Linked DNA regions of Homo sapiens: region 2 is linked to region 1. The links are contacts of gene promoters, found by promoter capture Hi-C in human tissues and cell types (Jung and others, 2019). All regions are on one chromosome and are shown on one strand. Each heading gives the region's core, a stretch centred on a gene start or on the middle of the fragment in contact. The rest is flanking DNA. Distances are from core to core; before and after follow the strand shown.

Region 1 (3,459 bases), core at 614-3,113:
ACCACGCCCAGCCAACTCTCTTCTTACATAATTCTGATGATGGTGCTTTTCTGGTTCTTGCACCACCTCACTGGGGTGGGTATTCCTTGTCCTTTGAGATAGTTTTTCTCCTTTCCCAAGTCCGAGAAAATCCAGAGCGCAGGAATCATTTCTAGATTTTTCCCTTAATACCAGCATCTGACTGGCTGCCACCAACGTGTCTCCAAGGAATGATGAAAACTGGGGTTGGAGGAAGAAAATCCCAATGCACCAGGGATTTGTTTTTTAAACGAAGAGTATACTAGGAGACGTCTCTCAACTCCAGGGCACCCAGATGCTGCCTGGAGAGGCTCTACTTCCATATTTTAAACTGTCCTCTGTGAGGAGATGACCCAGGAGAAGGTATTCATTAGACACTCCAAGAGATCTGGCTGCTAAACAGAGGACCAAGAAAAGATATAAGGGTGGCTGAGGACATATCACCCTCTAAAGTTTCCAAAAGGGAACTTCACCCCAAAGATACTCTGGTAAGATGTGCACACTCAAAAAAGATAAAATTAGGAGATGCACAAAGACTTTTTTTTTCTACAATTAACTGTCAGGTGATTATTTTCTGCTTTCCACTCATGTGTAATGTTCAGAAATATTTTAAGAGTGAAAACAAATATTTTCAGAACGACTCACTACTCTGAAAAAAATAACACACTTCATCTGTATGAAATGTACAATAAAAGACAAATACTTGATAATGTTGCATTTGAATATAGGAAAAGAATTGGAAATTTAGGGTTTTACTACAAGCCCCAGAAGAGTTAGGCTGTGGGAACAGGGTCGTTGATGTGAGATCCTGTTGCCATACACTTAGAAATGTGGAGTGTTATGTGAAAATAATTAAACACAGGCACTAGGGAGACTGAGGTGGGGGGATCGCTTGAGCCCGAGTCCAAGACTCCATCATACACATGTACATACACACATGAATGAATAAACAACCAACCAAAACGTAACTCATGCTTGTCTTGTAAATTAATAACTTAAAGGGAAACAAAACAGCCTTAAACAACCACGAACCCACCAATTAACCTCTGGTTACATAACCAGGAGATATCTGGCTGCACAGTCTATATGGGGTGACTACATAACTGTACACGATCAATTATTTAATTGGGTTTGCTTCCTCGGGTTCCTTACAAAAAACCCTTTCCTTCCCCAAACCACAAACCACGCTGGTGGCTTCCTAACTCACGACTCTCTGCTCAAATAAACTCCTTAATATTTTAACGGCGCCTCAGTTTTCTTTCTAACAGGAGAAAGGAGGATTTGGAGACTTCACAGACCACAGCTCCTCCCACGCAGGAACCCCGAACCCCAAGTCGGGACTCTCCCCTGAGGACCCTCCCGTCGGCACCGCACGATCCGAGGGAGATGCGGGTCTACAGAGGCAGAGCTGCCCAGAAAGGGTTCCGGGCCTGGCCGAAGCGGCGGGGCAGGGACAAGCCAGGCGGCCCGGGGTCTGGCTGCGGGTCCAGCCCCGCATCCTGTGCCACTAAGGCCGCGAGGCGCCGGCGGAAACTCGGGTCGGCACCGCGGGGAGGTCCGGGTTCGCCACAACCGCTTCCTGGCGGTTCCCTTTTCCCCTTCCCGAGACACCTGGCCGGCACACTCACCATTTCCCAGTCTCCGGTGTCTGGGGTCCTCCCTAAGGACCTTCCGGGACCTGCAGGTCCCAGAGCAACAGAAGCTGCCGCGGGACCACTTGGACCTCCCAGGGATAAGGGGAAGGAGCAGCGGAGACGCACCGAGCTCGCCACATTCGCGCTGCCCAACACAAAAGCCGCGCCAGGTCCCGGAAGCTGCTCCCTCCTTTCGCGGCGCGCTTGAGAGTACAGTCCCCTTCCCAGCGCCCGATTGGACAGGGCCTTAGGCCCCGCCCCTTCAGTCCTGAGTGACGGGAGATGCAATCAGACACGGCGCTGAGTGAGGCCAGGTTCTTTCCCTGCAGTCCTTTTCTAAGGCATGGATTCTGCCCTGTGCTGAGACCTGGCGCCCCCCGGGGGACTTTCCCATTCAAGCTCATACACAGGATTATGTCCATTTATGAGTAATATTTGTGATATTTACAATTGGAAACACTATGATGACAATTATTCTAAAATTTCAGATTTCACAACCTTCCTGGCCTCTGGTCTTTTGAGGAGGCAGCCTGAATTTTTTTTTTTTTCTTGCTTCTAGTGGGATTAGAGGCAGCTTGAATTTTGAAAAGACAATGTCCTCTCAGGTAGCAACGCCCCATAGAAATAAAATGTGAGCCGCGTGTGTTCCAGTAGCAATAGAAAAGAAAACAACACGTGAAATTGATTACAATGATTTATTTAACCAAATATATCCAAAAATATTGTTTCAATATATGATCGATGTTAAGCTCGCGCCTAATTGAAGAGACTACCCAAACAGGTTAAGTGTGAGCAGCAAGGCTAGTTTACTCACTCGGGTGCGAGCGGGCTGAGTCCGAAAAGAGGGTCAGCGGAGGGTCGTGGGATTGGAGTTAGTTTTATAGGTGAGGGGTAAGCAGTGGAAAGTTACAGTCAGGGGCCGTTTATTACCGGCGGGGGAAGAATGTCACAAAGTACATTGTCACAAGAGGGAGGGGTCACAGTGTCACTAGGCTGATTGATCAGTTAGGGTAGTGCACGTCACAACGGTAAAATGCTGCAAGGTTGGCTAATCAGCTAAGACAGAAACTAGCCGTTTTTCTTCCTTTGTGGTTTTCCTGTTGTCCCAGACTTTCTGGCTCCAGGACCTTCTGGATGTACACGTGTGGGTCACAGGGATCACAATGGCTTGACCATGGCGCAGCCTGCTCAGACGGCCTTACAATCGATATATTATTAATGAAAAATCACTCTATATATTAAGCTTCCAGCATGTTTCAATTCAGCCTGCACATTTGGATACACGTGTCTGGTTTTACCACTTTATTTTAAGGTTGTTCGGGAATGTCTGCCTGTTCCTTTCATGTAACTGTTCATTATTTATTGATTACTATTTCTTAATTTCACTTATCTCAGTGAGAGTTGCCAAATAGTGGTTTTCTAATTATTTTCTCTACAGGTATTAGTTCTCATTCTTCTATTAAAAATGGCGTTTTCTCATGAACTCTCTCCATTACATTAAAACCTACCCTATTAGGAAAGGAAGAATAAAAGCTTGATTCTCCCTTTAATCAATTGTCATAACAATGACGGCGTGGCCTCAGCAAACAAAAAAAATGTGAGTGACTTTTTTCTAACCTTATTTTTTGTGTATTTAATGAGATTCCATACACTGCAGTCTGTATCTATTTTTTGAGCTCAAATTATCCCTTTTTTTTTTTTTTTTTTTTGAGACCGAGTCTCACTCTGTTGCCCAGGCTGGAGTGCAGTGTGGCATGATCTCGGCTCACTGCAACCTCTGCCCCCCGGATTCAAGCGATTCTCGTGC
Region 2 (3,459 bases), core at 593-3,092, 38 kb before region 1:
AGGTTCCAGCAATTAACCTGTCTCAGGCTCCCAAGTAGCTGGGATTACAGGCGCCTGCTACCACGCCTGGCTAATTTTTTTATTTTTTTGGTAGAGATGGGGTTTCACCATGTTGGCCAGGCTGGTCTTGAACTCCTGACCTCAGGCGATTCACCCGCCTTGGCCTCCCAAAGTGCTGGGATTACAGGTGTGAGCCACCACGCCCAGCCAAAACACTTGCGTTGTAATCAACTACGTGAATAAGTGTTGTTATTCTTACCTACAGAAGCCAGGTTCCTGAAGATTTCTTGCATCACATCTCTGTAGAGATTCTTTTGAGAAGGATCCAGCAAAGCCCACTCCTCCTGAGTAAAGGCCACAGCCACATCTTCAAATGACACTGAATCCTAGAATATCGCACATATGTGGAGAGGAGGATGGCTTAGACAGACAGTACTAAGAATCTATACTCATCTCATAAAATCGTAACATAATTCTGCAGACTTCAAACATTTCTTCCATGACCTGGTCATCAGAACTTTACTCTCTGTCTGCACTTACTGCTGCCCACTCAACATTCTTCATGCTAAAATGAAACTATTCAGAAAGTCAACAGCAGAGTAGGAACACCTGTCTCATTGGCAGGTGCAGGGAATAAACTGTGCTGTAAGAAATGAGGTCACCCCTAATTTCTATGTGTAGATTTTATCTTAAGGGCCTCTCATAACGAAGTCATGCTATTTGTTGTGTATAACAGTTAGTATTAAGTCTTAAGACTACATATCCTTAGAAATACCTGCTCACAAAGTCTGACCTTTTGGTGTGAGAAAATAGATTTTTTTGACGGATCTCATCACCCTAAGTGAGTGGTTCACAATATGTAAACAATCTTATGCAAACAATATATTATTCGCTGAACTCCAGTTTTGTTTTGTTTCTGAAAGCCTACTACTTTACTCCATTCTTGCAGTGGTACCTAGGGGATCAGCTCTGAAAAACACTCTGAGCATTAAGTCTCTAATGAGCATTCTTGGTAAACAATATTTCTCATATGCTGTTACAACTTGTTAACTGGAGAAATGAGGCATCAACGTGATTATAATAAGAAAATATTTGGAAGCTTGCAAGTAGTTTACTCCAGACCAAATTAAACCCAGTTGTAAATAAGACTGATAATTTATCTTTAATAACAAACAAAACAATTTTAAAATTTCTATTGGATAACAACAAAGTGCAATGGAGTAAGTGGAAAGATAGTACGTGTGCTTAGAAGAAACTCAATGTCATCAAGATATCACCTCTTTCAAATAGCCTTAAAAAATTCCATCAATCCCCAAAACAGACACTTTATTAGCAACTGAAAACTACTTTTCCAAACCTAACAAAAAAAAAATGTCTAAGAATTGTCAAAGTCTTCCAAACAATAGGGCAATGGCTTCCTTACCATGTATCAGAATTTTCAAACTATAATATTCAGGACAGTATTAATGTGGAGATAAACAAATAGTCCAAAAGGGAAAAAAGTTTTAAATAAGCAGGAATTTATTTTTATTTTATTTTTTTATTTTATTTTTTTGGTGAGATGGAGATTTACTCTTGTTGCCCGGGCTGGAGTGCAATGGCGTGATCTCGGCTCACCACATCCTCCGCTGCCTCCCAGGTTCAAGCGATTCTCCTGCCTCAGCCTCCCGAGTAGCTGAGATTACAGGCATGTGTCACCACGCCCAGCTGATTTTGTATTTTTAGTAGAGACAGGGTTTCACCATGTTGCCCAGGCTGATCTTGAACTCCTGACCTCAGGTAATCTGCCTGCCTTGGCCTCCCAAAGTGCTGGGCTTACAAGCCACTGTGCCTGGCCTGTAAGCAGGAATTTTGTATGTAAAGTTCATTAATGACAGAGCATTCCAGAATAGTGGAAGAAATCAAAAGCACTTTAAAACATACAGTAGAGCAAATTGGTACTAACTGAAAAAGTACATTGCATTCCCCTCTATTCCATGAACAATAATCAAGTTCTTTATTTCAAATATGAAAGACAAAACTAAAATACGTTCAGACTTCGAAGGAAAACAGGGGTATTTTTGGACAGAAAAATGGGCAGAATTCATTTAAACAGAAAAAAAGGAACTGGCAAATTCACATATATTAATATTCAGGAAATTAAAAGGCAAAAAGCAGTGGGAAAAAACTGTAATACATGCAATATAAAAGAATTAGTATGAAGTGTAAAAATGAACACGATTTAAAAGTGAGAAAATAAGCAAAGCATACTTAAAAGAAGATGAAAGACCACCTATTTTTTTAAAAAGTCAACTTCCTTGGTAATGAGAAAATAGAAAATAGTCAGGTATATGACATTTGAAATTGACTAGAAGAAAAAAATCAACTCCATGTGATGACGGCCATGGCAAACGGGTTACTCACGAAGGAAGGAGGAGTCAACTGATACCCTCCATTGCTCTAATTTGAACTTACCACAATGTGTAGCCCATTAATTTTTCTAAAATGTCCAGAGAATTTACGGTGCATTTGCACTTGGAGATGTGGCATAAAATCATAGGAGCATTATTTTTCCCAAAAGCAAAAAAATACAATTGAAAAAGCCCTCACATCAGAATCATTAAAATGGACGGCTGAATTAAATGGTCCACAGCCTCAGGCACTAGCATGTGTGAAACATACTGACACAAGGAAATCACCAATAAACCTTTTTGTTTTAATTCCATTCATACTCATTTTAGAAAGTTCAAGTAAAGCAAAATGGAACTGAAAAATTACAGATGATAAAAATGCAAAAAAGTAGCCAAACAATCACAACAGTGGTCAACTAAGAGATAAGTCTAGGTGGGAACCATCAGAAAACTCTTAATGACTGTAGGAGGCCCAGTTAAGAATCTTAATTATAATTTCCAAGTTGCTTCAACTATTGTTACTAAAACTCTTGACAAATGTTTTACTCATTCTTACTGTATTTCTTAATAGAAAACTTAAAAATTAATTAAAATGTAAAAGAACACAATTTTTATGTTTCTTTGCCTTATAACGTGATCTGAGTCGTGATTTACAGATTTCACAGAAATAAGTAAATTGAGCAGCACAGCTCACAGTGCTAGTTGCTCAGCAAGCAGCTAAAGTACACACCAGATACCAGGCGGCAGAACCGATTAGCAAGTCATTGCGAGAGAAGACAGAACCACATGGTGGTGGGCAATGTCTGAACATTCTGCTAGTGGTACTAAGTGCGATGGTCACGGGCAGAGATGTGTTTGGAAAGGGTAGGAAATTATTACTCAGAAAATTGACACTTGTGGATCCATTAGGTCAGGCCTTTCAAGGTGGTTTGATATGGTTTGAATGAGGAAGAAAAGGAGCCAGGCCTGTGTTTTCTGTTGAGGGTAGGTGGAAAGCTAGGATGAGAATTCAGTTTCAAGGGAAAAGATTTACATGGTTTCAATCTGCTGCCAAAACCCAGAGAGAGCA

The links. The method cuts DNA at HindIII sites, captures the fragments that hold promoters and counts their contacts. A contact is called where the count stands out against the background at its distance.
Region 2: a fragment that was not itself captured here is called in contact with the fragment with the promoter of ZNF670 in region 1 in 2 of the 25 tissues and cell types used here (neural progenitor cells and thymus).

What each region holds. Positions count from the first base shown.
Region 1 is chr1:247,076,948-247,080,406 of GRCh38, forward strand. ZNF670 (zinc finger protein 670) reads right to left here and starts at 1,864. Exons shown (of 4, transcript NM_033213.5): 1 at 1,647-1,864. The coding sequence starts at 1,649. It overlaps ZNF670-ZNF695 (ZNF670-ZNF695 readthrough (NMD candidate)), which reads right to left and starts at 1,864. Exons shown (of 7, transcript NR_037894.2): 1 at 1,647-1,864. RefSeq lists silencers at 1,727-2,040, 1,829-1,898. The HindIII fragment of the contact is 11,562 bases long and covers 1-3,459 here.
Region 2 is chr1:247,039,152-247,042,610 of GRCh38, forward strand. It overlaps ZNF670 (zinc finger protein 670), which reads right to left. Exons shown (of 4, transcript NM_033213.5): 2 at 260-386. All of the region lies in intron 1 of ZNF670-ZNF695 (ZNF670-ZNF695 readthrough (NMD candidate)), which reads right to left. Among named protein-coding and RNA genes, the nearest start is that of ZNF695, 33 kb to the left of the region's middle. The HindIII fragment of the contact is 4,338 bases long and covers 1-3,459 here.